Regions from separate parts of the Homo sapiens genome. Here all the other regions are linked to region 3. Evidence: promoter capture Hi-C in 16 types of primary human blood cells and fetal thymus (Javierre and others, 2016). All regions are on one chromosome and are shown on one strand. The core of a region is centred on a gene start or on the middle of the fragment in contact, and the rest is flanking DNA. Distances in the headings are between cores, read along the strand shown. Region 1 holds the start of SNX10 (sorting nexin 10). Region 2 overlaps LOC105375199 (a long non-coding RNA gene). Region 3 holds the start of TAX1BP1 (Tax1 binding protein 1). Region 4 has its middle 64 kb from the start of LINC03007. Region 5 has its middle 52 kb from the start of MIR148A.

Evidence for each region. Contacts are between HindIII fragments. The CHiCAGO score rates a contact against its expected background, and 5 or more counts as called.
Region 1: a contact is called between the fragment with the promoter of SNX10 here and the fragment with the promoter of TAX1BP1 in region 3, in 1 of 17 cell types (neutrophils). The highest score is 6.6, in neutrophils.
Region 2: a contact is called between a fragment that was not itself captured here and the fragment with the promoter of TAX1BP1 in region 3, in 1 of 17 cell types (fetal thymus). The highest score is 7.0, in fetal thymus.
Region 4: a fragment that was not itself captured here is called in contact with the fragment with the promoter of TAX1BP1 in region 3 in 1 of 17 cell types (fetal thymus); the score reaches 6.4 in fetal thymus.
Region 5: a contact is called between a fragment that was not itself captured here and the fragment with the promoter of TAX1BP1 in region 3, in 1 of 17 cell types (fetal thymus). The highest score is 5.0, in fetal thymus.

The regions. Positions count from the first base shown.
Region 1 is chr7:26,290,602-26,293,301 of GRCh38, reverse strand. SNX10 (sorting nexin 10) reads right to left here and starts at 1,440. Exons shown (of 7, transcript NM_013322.3): 1 at 1,216-1,440. RefSeq lists silencers at 947-1,026, 1,177-1,416. The HindIII fragment of the contact is 4,940 bases long and covers 1-1,611 here.
Region 2 is chr7:25,954,478-25,957,177 of GRCh38, reverse strand. The region is part of intron 6 of LOC105375199 (a long non-coding RNA gene); the gene reads left to right. Among named protein-coding and RNA genes, the nearest start is that of MIR148A, 5.8 kb to the right of the region's middle. The HindIII fragment of the contact is 225 bases long and covers 1,196-1,420 here.
Region 3 is chr7:27,738,903-27,741,602 of GRCh38, reverse strand. TAX1BP1 (Tax1 binding protein 1) reads right to left here and starts at 1,441. Exons shown (of 17, transcript NM_006024.7): 1 at 1,334-1,441. TAX1BP1-AS1 (TAX1BP1 antisense RNA 1) reads left to right here and starts at 928. Exons shown (of 2, transcript NR_187572.1): 1 at 928-1,587. RefSeq lists enhancers at 1-643, 1,158-1,427, 644-1,506 and a silencer at 758-990. The HindIII fragment of the contact is 7,568 bases long and covers 980-2,700 here.
Region 4 is chr7:25,852,355-25,855,054 of GRCh38, reverse strand. No RefSeq gene overlaps it. Among named protein-coding and RNA genes, the nearest start is that of LINC03007, 64 kb to the right of the region's middle. The HindIII fragment of the contact is 1,780 bases long and covers 478-2,257 here.
Region 5 is chr7:25,897,012-25,899,711 of GRCh38, reverse strand. No RefSeq gene overlaps it. Among named protein-coding and RNA genes, the nearest start is that of MIR148A, 52 kb to the left of the region's middle. The HindIII fragment of the contact is 3,378 bases long and covers 1-2,700 here.

The DNA.
Region 1 (2,700 bases), core at 191-2,690, 1.4 Mb after region 3:
TGAAGCCTGGGAGGTGGAGTTTGCAGTGAGCCAAGATCGCACCACTGCAATCCAGCCTGGGTGACAGAATAATACCTTGTCTCAAAAGAAAAAGAAAAAAGTAAATAATATTAAGAATAATGAAGGTCCAGCTATGTACCTACCTTAGGAATAGGCATCACTGGAAGTGATGGCAGAGGCAAGGCAGGAGTCCCTGACCTCACCTCCATTCTCTCACTGAGGAGCCCCTGCAGAAGCTGGTCAACTATCCAAGCAGTCCCTGCTTCTTCCTGGCGAAGGCCTCAGCCTCCAGCCCAGCCCCCTCCTGGGAGAGGAGGGGGAGCTTATGCAATCCAAACCCAGTTCCCAGGCCCCAGAGGTGGACATAACTCCGGGGTGGAAGTCAGAAGCCTGCCAGGTTGTAGGCCTGGTTCTGCTCCCATCTGGCTGAATGATCCTGGTCCCAACACTCAGCGTCCCTCGGCCTTAGCCTCCCTGTCTGTAAAATGAAAGGTTTGATGGAGATCATGTGCAAGCCTCCTCCCCGTTCTAATTTTCTGATACCATCATTTTTAACGTGTCTTGTAGAGATAGAAGCCCTTCCTTTCAGCAGGACATGTTGCTCCCCATTCCGTGACGATCCCCCTCAATAATCCGTGTAATTTGAGAAAAGTATGATGCATCGGAACTGAAAAACAGGCTGTTGCTTTCCTGGTCACCAAATCTGATAATCAGTCAATTATATGGATTTTCCCCTGGGCCTTCTCCCTCAATCCCACAATCCCACGAATAAACCTGCCTACCCCTCCCAATTCCTCAACTCAAGGCTACCCGTTAATGAATGAATAAAAAAATAAATAAATAAATTTTAAAAACCACCTCCCCACCCCCTTCTACCCGGCCTGGTGTAAGGTGCCACAGCACTTCTTCCGTAATCTAGAATCCACCTCTGCCCCACCCTCTCCCCGGGGTGTCTTTTTAGCCAAGAATCCCTGGATCGACGCGCTCCATCTCCCCGCTCTACCGCGCTGATCATTTCTCCCTGCCCGGCACACCTCGGCTGAAAAGGAGGCGGCTCCTCTGCTCCAAGCCCAAGGGACCCAAACCTCTTTCCAGCCCGCAAGGGTGCGGGCACCTGGGAACAGCGGGAAGGGCCCGCGCCTCTGGAAAGAAGGGCCGCCGTCCCCACCTGGGCGGTGCAGGGGAGGCCCCCTCAGCGGGTCTCTTGTCACTTACGGGCGGCTCCTCCGGGCAGAACAGAGCAGGGCCGGGCCGAGCCGGGCTTGCGGGCCGCGGAGTTTGCTGACTCAAAGGCGCGCGGCGGCAGCGGCGGCGGCGAGCGCCCAGGAGCGCACACGAGCGCAGCCCCGCGCTCCCCGCGCTCCCCGCGCTCCCCGCGCACGTAGCGGCCCCGCGCCCGCGCTCAGCGCCAGCCGTCCGCCTGTGGGCGCCGCGCCTAGTGCTTCCGCCGCCTCCGCGCAGCCCAGCCCAGGTGCGCCCCCACCCTGCAGAGCTAGCCTCCTGCTTCCTGAAATTGAGTTAGGGAGGAAATGCCCCCATTAGTCCGGACGTTGAGGCTGGAGGTGCTCCAGCGGCACCCTTCGGAATTCGCCACCTGAGTCACCTTAAGCTTCCTAACCCTGACCCCACAGTTATGGGGAGGATTGCCGATGGGGAGGAGGACGGATAAATAACGTGATAAACAAGAATGGCAGAATGTTCATAGCATCTAGGTGGTGGGCTATGGTGTTTATATAAAATTATTTCAGTTTTTGTCTATGTTTGAAATGTCTCAATAAAACATTTGGGGGGAAAGCTAATGAGATCTGCCAAGGGACCTGACTGAGGAAAGCATTTCCCAAATGGCACCTGAGGCTGGGTCCCCACACCTGTTTGCATGGGAAACCACAATCATCACTTAAACTGCTAATAAGTGACTGAATGACACAGAATAATAAGCATAGCCTAATATTTCATTTTTCAAGCATGAATTTTCCCATTAGATACAGCTTGTCGCTGATCATCCTCCAGGGACCATTCCAGGCCCACCTGAAAACGCATCTGTTCACCACACCTACATTAACTCCCTAACAAAACGTATAAATATACAATGTTGTGTCTTAACATCTTGGATCTTGAAGTTGTATTGCTGAACCCTCAATCACTGGTATTTAATTTCCTAAAATTGCACCCAAGTCATGACACACAAGTGAATGCAACCATGATCACTTTTGAAAATCAAATTAAGCTGGTGTGGTGGCTCACGCTTGTAATCCCAGCACTCTGGGAGGCCGAGGCGGGTGGATTACAAGGTCAGGAGATGGAGACCATCCTGGCTGACATGGTGAAATGCCGTCTCTACTAAAAATACAAAAACTTAGCTGGGCGTGGTGGCGCGCGCCTGTAATCCCAGCTACTCGGGAGGCTGAGGCAGGAGAATAGCTTGAACCCGGGAGGCAGAGGTTGCAGTGAGCCGAGATCATGCCATTGCACTCCAGCCTGGGCGACAGAGCAAGATTCTGTCTCAAAAAAAAAAGAAAGAAAATCAAATTAAAGTGTATTTTTTATATTCTTGTCCCTATGCTCCGCAAAGAAAAACATTGAGTAGAAAACAAAATGCAGCATGTATCTAAGATCCTAAGAGATTCTGTAAAATTAAAATCTTTCTGAACTTATTGTCAAGAGCATGACTTTACAGCTGTAGACAAAGCAGCAACAAAC
Region 2 (2,700 bases), core at 59-2,558, 1.8 Mb after region 3:
TTACTGCTGCCCTAAGACCACCTTCATCCCTCCTCCATGTGCTAAGCATCCGCTTCATTTGGTGAACCCTATGTAAGCCAGTCCTTTCAGTGGAAACAATGATATTTAAAGTACCTGTGAGTTCTGATAATTACTTCCAAATGCTGCGTTTAGAGTCAAGGAAGTAGAAAACTACATCAAACAAAACTGGCTTATTCTTTGGGAGACTATGGAATCAAAGATGGAATCAAAGTCAAAAATAACACTAATGCCAGATTGTTGCAGGACTGTGAGACCAAGCCACTCTAGATGATGTCTTGGCCAGATGGACAAACCTTATAAAACAACAGAAGACAAGTCAGGAGCACACAGAATGTGATTTTTCAGCATTAAAATCAAAACTGTAATCAATCAGAGTAGAGACAATTTCACATGGGCTAAGTGGGATATTTATGAACTGTATAGCTCAGCCCTAGCTGCAGAAGCTGCCCAAATGGCTAGCTGCAGGCAAGATGAAGGAAGGGCTCCGGAGGCACACAGAGGGCACGCTCCAAGAGACTTTTGGAGGTACTGCTCCTGCTGGTATACCCCCCAACTCTGGGAGTGCAGTGTAGTTCTCAGAGAAAATGAGGCTCATTTGGAGCATAAACTGAAAACATTTTTTGCACAAGCCCAGATGTGGGTGGCTGTTATGAAGTCTGTTTAACTAGAGGGATTACAAATAGCAAATTGCCAATAAAGAGTTGGCTTTTATGAGTTTGAAGGGAAACTTAGTGATTAGCCTCAACTCCAAGAAGTAAAGCATCTTAGATTAGAATACAGAAGCCCCTAAACAGAATTCTTAAAAAAAAATTTAAATCTAATATTTGGTACATATAAAATATATATATCTCTCACATATGCAAATCACAAAACATAATATACTGAACACTTACTAGCCTAAGTGTTATGTCCAATTTAAGAACAGGAACATTGCCAATTGCATCCACCTTTGGGCTGCCTTCTCACCCTCCTTCCCTCCACGTCCTACCAGCAACCACTAACCCGAATTTTCTATTTATCATTTTCTTGCTTTTTATCACTTTATAAATTTCTTAAAATTATATTGTTTGGCTGTGTTTGAGCTTTATAAAAATGGCATCGTTATATCTTAGTCTCCTGGGACTTGCTTTTTTCCATCTTCTTTTTTTTTTGCTCAACATTATGTTTCCAAGCTTCATCCATAGCTTTGTGAGGAGCTGTAGTTCATTCATTTTCAGTGCTGTATAATAATCCGTTGTGTGAAAAGACCCCAAATGCCACTGATTTACATCATCTCCATCTATTGATGTTGTCAGGCTTGTGAATTTTTGCCAACCTAGTGGGTATAAAATGATATCTCACTGAAGTCTTAAATTACATTTCCTTGTTTCTAATGAGGCTTAACATCTTTACCTAAGCTTATTTGCCATTTGCTTTTCTTTTTCTGTGCAATGCTTGTTTATGCCTTTTCCACTCTTTTTTTTCTATAGCGCTGTCTTTTTTCTTACTGATTTTGTGGAGTTCTTTTTTTTTTTTTTAAGTGAAAGCAAGTTTATTAAGAAAGTAAAGGAATAAAAAAATGGCTACTCCATAGGCAAAGCAGCTGGGATTCTTTATGTACTAAGCAGCATGGGTTTTTAAAATCCATTTATCAATCTGTTGATTTTTAACATGTTAGGTGCAGAGCATTTAGAACTGGAAGGACCATTTGAAATACATAGTTCATCTCTCTCATGTTACTGAGGAGGAAAACTGAAGTGCACGGAGGTAAAGTAACTCGCCCAGTATCACAATTTGTGTTTGTACCATTGCTGAGGTGAGCACCTGGGCCTTCTAACCCCAAATTAAATTATTCTCCTATGTGACAACCTCCTTTAATGGTTTTTTCTCATTTATATTTAAAATTTTTAAAGTACCCAAGTAATAATACACGTTCATGGTAGAAAAAGAAAAAAAATTAGCAAAATGAGGAAAATAAAAATCAGTTTTAATCCCACCTTCAGATGCAACTATTCTCTGTTTTGTATTTCCTTTCTAGATAATAACTATAACGGATCATTATTATGAAATGCTTACTCTGTGCTAGTTATTATGGAGTGCTTCTTACAAAATGCTAGGCATTTTGTAAACACTCTTCATGTGTGGATGCTTTAATCTTCTGCACAACCCTATGATGTAGATTATCACCATCAGTGATAGGCAGTGTGGCAGGCAGAATGACAGCCTCCCTGAAATGTCCACATACTAATCCCAGGAACCTGTGAATGCGTTATGTTACATGGCAAAGGAGAATTAAGATAGCAGACAAAATTAAGGTTGGTAATTGGCTGATCCTGAAATAGCAAGAATATCCTAGATTACCCAGGTAGGCCCAACGCAATCAGAAAGGAAGAGGGAGACACAAGAGGCGGCATGAGAGTGATGCGATGTGAGAATGATTCAACCAGCCTTTGCTGGCTTTGAAGGTGGAGGAGGAGGCCAGAGCCAAGGAATGCGGGAAACCTTTAGAAACTGAAAAACCAAAAAATGGATTTCTCCTTTTGGTACTCCAGAAAGGAATGCACCCCTGCTGACACCTTGACTTTAGCCCAACATGGTAGACAGAACAATGGCCCCAAAATATCCACATTCCAATCCCTGGAATGTGTGACTGTGTTACCTTACATGTCAAAAGGAAGTTTACAGATGTGATTAAGACTT
Region 3 (2,700 bases), core at 192-2,691:
CTTGAACCTGGGAGGCGGAGGTTGCAATGAGCCGCGATCGCGCCACTGCACTCCAGCCTGGGAGACAGAGCAAGACTCCATCTCAAGGAAAAAAAAAAAAAAAGAACGTGATGACTAGAAAACAAAAACTACAATGTTCTTTGAAGTTGAACAATCAGTTTGAAAAATAAATAAAACCTTATTAGAAGTCGGCATCATCAAACAATCCTTCAAGTTTACCCTTGAAAGGAACAGAACGAAAGAGAAAGGCTGTCCTAAGCTCCTTCCCTAAACCCGAAAAGCACTTTGAGGACGATCGACCCACTTTTAGTTTCTATTCAAATGATCTCTTTAAATCCTTTAGGAATTGAGCACCAAACTTGTAACTATTAATTGTTCGTGCACAGCTCGTAGAAATTTTAACATTAGCAGAATGCAGACAGCTGAAAAATCAAGATTTATTTTCCCATCTAAAGCCTAACATAATAGCAATTCATAACCACTGTGTGAAACCGGAAATCTAACACTGTGTATGTCTAAAGTCAAATGCCAGTGTTTTCTAACAAAACTTTTACCAATAAGGTGTGTACACACACCCACACAGACGCACGCTAAGCTCAATTTTTTACTAATAAGGTGTACGCGCGCGCGCGCACGCTAAACTCTAGCCACAGATTCCCTAAGCCAGGAGTGCAAGTCGGTCGGGACTAGTCCACACCTTGCGAACGGGGCGGGGTGGGGAATGGATTCCAGGTGAAGCAGGCCATCAGCCAGAACCGCCAACTCCGCCCGCGGCCCTCAAAAGTAGGCGGCGCAGGGAGTCTCCGCCCCCTTCGCCACCGGCGACTCAAACCAAAACAGCTGGGTTTCTCTCCGCAAAGGCAAACCCCAGCGTCCTTCTCGGACGCGACCTACGTGTTTTCTCAGCTTACTGCGCCGGTAAAACCCACACTGCCCTCAAAACAGTCACCCCAGAGTTTAGCCTTGGACACCAGAAGCTTTTCCTTCGGGGGTCGCCAGCGTCACTCGTCCCCAGCCAAAGGGCCCCCGTCCCACACGCCTCCCCCAAATCGCGAAGGCCTGTCCCACGGGCCTCCCACCGCGTGGGGCGGCCACCCGTTGCCATTCCAAAACTCCACAGCTGATCCGAGTCGCCCACACCCCCGTCACAATCGCAGTCTGGAAAGGAAGGTTTGTCTTCGGGAAGGAAAGCCTCGTCACCACAGAGACCTCTCCCGAGACCGGCCAGGCCCCTACAGTACAGGGGCTGAAGGGTGTAGCACGAGCCCTAAAAGAGATGCAGCTGGAGGCCGCCCCGCACAAGGCGCTGGGGTGGACCGGGGAGGCGCCTTACCCAGTGGAAAGACTCCCGGATCAAGGGAGAAAGTTACGCAGGCTTCCGATCCTGATCCGCCATCAGCCGCCGAACCTCTTCCGCCACTACCGCCTACCCCCAAAGACCGGCTACACCTCCCCTCCCAGCCGACAGTAGGCCTTGCGTCACTTCCGCCCACGGGGCGGTCTCTTCCGCCTCCTGCCTGGTTCGCCGCTCCCCTCCGCGACGACACGCCCCCAGCCCACTCCGCCGCGGGACGCCTCATCCCGCGGGTAGGCTGGCTCTCTCCTTACTTCGTCCTTGCTATTTTCGTTCAACTTAATCGCAGCAAAACAATGCGTCTGGATTTACATTCTGATTTTATGTTATTATTTTGACATACGAAAGGGGGAAACACACAGGAGGTTTAAGTAACTCACCAGCGATGTGGAAAGGGCAGCTCAGAGGTCCATGGACAGTACCGTATCCCTGTCTGCGTCTCAGTCGGCCTAAACTAGCCCACTCATTTTATAGATAAGGAAATAGCCAGAGAAGCAAGGGAGTGACCACACGGCTAGGGCTGCAAACCCCTGAGCACCAAGACTGTCTCTGAACTCCTGGCCCAGTCGTGTGCTTTTTTGGCTATGAAGTTTTGTTCACTGAAAGCTCCTAGGAGCTTTTCAGTTCTAATGCCCTCTGATTCTATTTGCTCTCGCTCCAGCAGAGGCCTCTTTTCTAGCCGCATTTCTGTGAGTTACCTGCTTTTGTTATCCGTATCATTTTCCGTGTGTGAATTTTCTCCCGCGTTCTGTTATTTCTAAAATCACTTTTGCTTGTTGTATATGTTGCCTTCCTATATTGGACATTCAGTTTGAATCGTAACTCCACAGAAGCAAATGTGTCCCATTCGAATTCATCATAGTCTTCTGTTGCCGTAAAACCCTGACAAACCTTGCAATAGCACCAGAAAGGATATGTAAATTAGATCGCATTAAATGTTGAAGCACATTCTAAATACAGAACATTCAAAATTATCTTTCATATACTTTCATCTTTACTTCCAGTTATTTCAGAAGACATTAGCTTTGATAACATAGGTTCTCAATATTTACAGACTGATTTGTTTCCTGTGTATTGACATTTTTGAACTTGGTCTTGTGCTGGGTATTATACTTGATCATAGAATTTCAGAAGAACCTTAATAGGCCATTTAGTCCCAGTCTCCTTATTTTATGGATGAAGAAAACGGTGTGAATAATCAACATAAGTTATCACTTGCGTTACTGGTAGCAACCTTCTGGTAGTAGAAATAACTGTGTCCCTTAAGAAATGTAAACATAGCAGTGAATTTTATAAGCACAATTTGTCAGAGATGTCACTCTTTGTTTAAATCACATTCCTATTTA
Region 4 (2,700 bases), core at 118-2,617, 1.9 Mb after region 3:
ATAATGTTCAACTCAATTGCTTGCCTTGGCCTTTCCCAAACTTGTCACTGGAATATAAATTATCCCTTTTTTAAAAATAAAAAAATAAGAATTATGTAGTGCACATATATGATGGTTCATGTAGAAATCTAAATGGACTTCCAACGCATGGAATTTTCCTATTTCCCCCTTTCTTTAAATTAATCCTCAGTGAAGGAGGCTGTTTTCCCCTAGATTTCAAAAGGACGAGATTTACAGAGCCTTTCCTTGGAGAAACCCGCTCTAGGCACAGATGGTCAGTAAATTTAGCTTCTTCAGCGAAGTTCCACATGGCACCGCCAGATGGCATAAGGATCCCCTTCTCACCATCTCCACCCCCACCTTGTACCCTGCAAGTAATTTAGAAAAATTGAAAACCAAACACTTTTATATTTTATAACTAAATGAAGTGAGAACATACTGGCACTGTTAGAGAGCCACATATTACAAAAATAAGCTTTGTTGGTTGTTGCTTTAATGTGAAACTTCCTCCGGAGATTTTGCCCAGGAAAGTTTGCGAGTAAAATATTCATCCAGTGAAAGTGTTTGCAAAAATATTTCCTTAAGCGAAGTAAGCACCTTAAGCACGCTTTAAAAAGGTAAGAGTAAGAGGCCGCTGCGTTTCTGAGCGTGGTGTTTGCAGGGCCGGGCGAACTTTTTAGGGACTAAACTGAAATCGAGGGGGAAACTCAGTTTCCCAGCGAGTGGTCTCACTGGAGCAGAGCCTGGCCGGAGCCACAGGGCCGAGGTTGCATCTCTGCTTTCTCTGCTTTCCGATCCAGTTGCTGTTAGAGCAGCGTTGCTTTTTTAGGAATTCATTTTGGGGTCCCTATGACAGATAGGCAAGACTTTCTTTCCACTCACAAGTCACTGTAGTAGGGGGCAGAATCTTTGTTTTGCCAACCTCGGCGGGGGATTTGAGGGTGGAACCCTGGAAAGTGTAGACCTCCACTTCTCATCTGCCTCTCCTTTTATATCTGCTTTTCTGTTTGGGTTTATCAGGAAGAGAAGGGTTCGTGCTGTCCCCACATCAAGGTCAGAATAAGAACTTACGGTATTTGCAGAGGGAGACGGGAGGAAAGAAGAAAATACTGTACTCAAGTGAGAAGTTTCACAGCTTTAGATGTACATTTTTACATTTTACAGGTCGACAGCTCTCTAGCTGGGAAACTTCATGACTTCTTCTCCCATTTATACAAGCAGAATAATTGCACACTCACTTTTGATTACTCTACCCTATAATTATGCATTTTAAAATTGCAACCGGCCTTTAAAAATAAGTCTACCTAAAAAAATCTTTCAGAATACAGCCATTAGCCCTCATTTTACAAGAAGGTGGATTCATTGGATCTGTTGTTTTGTGCTCTGTCGGTTGACTTTTATTTAGCCAGAAACTAATGAGTTGGGTGCCGACGTTTACTTATATCTCCCTCTGACATCCTAACTGTGGGTGAATTTTCTAGCCCAGCACCAGATCCTTAGTGTCTGCAGGGCAAGAATCTGCACATTTTCACCAGCCCCTGTTTCTAGTGACCAACTTCGCAGGCTGTAGGAAAACTCATCCTACCCAGGCACATATAAGCAAAAAAAGTAGTAACACTTTTTAGTTTAGAATCAACACTTCTGATTCGTTAGTTCAAGTTGAAACCATACGTTTCTTATTTTATTTCACTATCTGGCTTTTTTTTCCTCTTGAAAAAGATCGGAGGGTATCAATAGTAAAACTGAAGTAAGAATTGCTAAAAGTAAAGCAAGAATTTTAGGGGGTACTTTTTTCCCTTAGGTGGTAAGAAGGAAGACCTGAAGGAACGAGTCTTTTAAAAGAGAACCTTAAGTTTCTAAGCACAATCTTGCTCTCTTAATATTTGTCTTCTGCCCTGCAGAAAACGGGGCAAAAAGTGTTTAAACAAATGGAGATGGGACCTGTGGGCTGTCCAGGCGTGGCTTAGGACTCGGGAGCTATCAGCTCCCCTCCCGAATCTCTGCTTCTAAGTCTCTTTTGCAGCCCCCCAGTAAAGGCGGGCCCCAGGTGGGAATTTGGCGATCCCGGCGCGTGGGGACGACTGCGCTGGGGCGCGGGGCGCTCCGGGTGCAAAGGCCCAGGCACAGGGCGGCGGGCGCAGGGGCAACGGTCCCAGGGCGAGGGATGCCGCTGTCCCCAGCTCTCCTGAAACCCACTCCCGGGCGAAAACGTGGGCAGAAGGCGGGAAAACGCCGCAGCCGGCGCTCAGAGCAAGCTTCCAGCAGACGCGGGAAGTTGAGGCTCGGCGCCCCCGCCCCCACCCCAGCGCCCAGTCTCCGCTCCCCTTCAGGGCCTCTTCCGGGCTGAGTCCTGGGAGTGGGTTTCCCCGGCCGCAGTGATTTTGCAAGAGTGCGGCCGGCCGGCTGTAAATCAGCCTTTCTCCACTCCCGGGGGGCAGCCCTCCCGAGCCGGGGCGGGGGCGCGGAGGACGCGGGGGCCGGGCCCATGGCCACCCTAGGCCCTCGGCCGCAGCTGGATCGGCCGCCTCCGGCGAGGCGGCGGGGGTTAAACGCCGTGAATCCATCAATCAAGCGCACCGCCGCCCTCGCGAAACCCGGAGCACCGCCCGCGGGGCCTGCTTTGTGTCTCGCCCGCCCGCCTGCCCGGGGCCTGGGAAGCAGGGTCGGGCCGCTCCAGAGTCCGGGGGGCGCGGCGCATTC
Region 5 (2,700 bases), core at 193-2,692, 1.8 Mb after region 3:
CCCTCCGTAAGCGTGTTAATGGCTGGGTGCAGTGGCTCATGCCTGTTATCCCAGCACTTTGGGAGATCAAGGTGGGAGGATTGCTTGAGCCCAGGAGTTGTCGACCAGCCTGGGCAACATAATAAGATCCTGTCTCTACAAAAAATAAAAGATTAGCCAGATTTTGTGGTGCATGCCTGTAATCCCAGCTATTCGGGAGGCTGAGGCAGAAGGATGACGTTAGCCCGGGAGGTTGAGGCTGCAGTGAGTCATGATCATGCAGCTGCACTCCAGCCTGAGTGACAGAGCAAGACCCTGTCTCTAAAACATAAAAATAAAAAAAAAAAAAACACTTTTCATTACCAGCTTAGTTTGCATAATCCAAGACAATATACAACTTTATTTCACATATTAAAGTTAGGCAGGCTCACCTGGGATTCAGATGCTGCAGAATTTTTTGGGGGTAAGCTCAGAAAGAGATGGGAGAAAGTATGCTAATAAGAAAGTCACCTATCTCTTATATTTAAGAAGGAAACCTTAAGTCAATATTTCCATAAAATTTTATTTTTTGTTTATAATTTACATTATAAACCCAGTTTCTAATTTTAGCACGGAAATTTAGGTACCAGTAGCAACAGATAGGTGCCTTGCCATAATAAGTCCTCATATTTTGCATTTACAGAGCATTTTCACGTTCATTACCTTATTTTGGTAGTCTGTTCCCAATTTTTATTCTTGCTGCTAAGGGTTTTCTGCGATGTCACAGAGCTACATAATAGGAGAATCCAAATTCAAGGCCAGGTCTCCTGACTCCCAGTCTAAGCCCTTCCCAAACCTGGGCCACACCACCTGTTTCAGTGGAGGTGTCTATTGTGTAGGCCCAGAGGCAAACACAGCTATCCTGGATGTGGATGAGGGCACAGCAAGCCAGCCAGTCTCACTCACTGTGGTGGGAGCACAAACTGATATGCATCCTTTGGAAAAAGCAATTTGGCAAAATGTATTGAGAACCTTAATACTGTTTCTACACTTTGACCCAGTAATTCTACTTAAAGGAATCTATCCTAAGAAATTAATGTGATATTAGCCGAAGGTTTACATAGAAATATGTTTACTGGAATGCTACTTATAATTCCAACAATAAAAGGTTAGTTAAGAACATTGTGGTTCTGGGTGCAGTGGCTCATGCCTGTAATCCCAGCACTTTGGGAGGCTGAGGTGGGTGGATTGCTTGAGCCCAGGAGTTTGAGACCAACCTGGGCAACATGGCAAAACCCTGTCTCTACCAAATAATACAAAAATTAGCTGGCATGTTGGTGCACACCTGTGGTCTCAGCTACTCAGCAGGCTGAGGTGAGAGGATCACCTCAAGGGTGTAGTGAGCCATGATCATGCCACAGCACTCTAGCCTGGGTGACAGAATGAGACCCTGTCTTAAAAAAAAAAAAATTATGGAAATAATGTGAAAATATTTATTATATAAGATCAAATGAAAAAAGTCATCATCCAGATAGAATAACTAGCAGAGAAACAAGATGTATACCAAAATGTTAAGGCCTAACTGTGACTAATGAGATTACAAATACAATTTTTTACATTTAATACCCATTTCCCATGTTTTCTATAAATAAGATGTAATTTTATAATCAGAAAAAAAGATTATATTTAAAAATTTTTAAATTATAAAAGCAGCCAGTGAGACTAAACACTAAAAATAAAGAGTGATTTGGGGATTAAAAATGGTCATTTTATCTAGATTGGTTCATAAACTGTATGGTTCATGTTCAGGAAAAACTAACAAACAAAAATATGGTGCTAATTTGTTACATTTCCAAGGAGAAGATTAAGGATGTATGATTTAAAGATGAAAACCACAATTGCAATAGAGCATGTGGCAAATATTTCAAGCTAGCAAAGTTTGACTAGGTAGTGGAATCACTTTCATGACTAAAGAAAGCTATACTGAATGTGTAGGAGTGAGGCTCTAGGGAGCCTCACTAGGAGAAGCTCTTGCAAGATCCCTGCACCATGTGGTAAGCTGGTTTCTTCCTCCGTGGTCTTTGGCCCTGGCTTGTTTTGTGTGATAAAAAGGAAGAGTCATCGGAGAGCTTCATATACAGCGAACACAACCTCAGAGATACTTTGGAGCTTTCTGGGTGGGGGAGAAAGACGTGGCAAAAGCAGCTGAAGGATTCAGGGTTAACACTTTGCCTTTTGAAGAGACTTCAGTTCTTGGAGGGCTTCCAGTCTGAATTTGGGGAATTCATCAACAGGAAAACAAATAGCTGGCAGGCTCTGTATTTACTCTGCCCTTCTCAAGGTTGCAACATAAATCTCCCAACTTGGAAAGCATTAAGGCCGAGGAGACATTTTGTGAGTTCAGGGACTCTCCTCCAGTCTGCATGAACCACGTCTACCCTCATTTCGGGAAAACACAGGCACCAGCCCTCAAGGTGCTGCGGGAGACAGTACTGACACTGTTTGACTCGCTTGGGGCAGACTGGGGAAATGAGAGCTGGAAAACTTGAGTTCTCAAGTGAGAGCTGTTGGTCTGCTTTGGAAAAAACCCACTTACGCCAGGAGAATGAAAGCCCTGAGAAGTTCTCACTGGGTGAGTTTATGGCAGGCTTGCCATGAAAAATACCCAATGGTTCTTTGATGGTGCCCGAATTGTAATATAGCTAGATCAATTCTGGAAGCAACCTTCTTCAACACCACTGG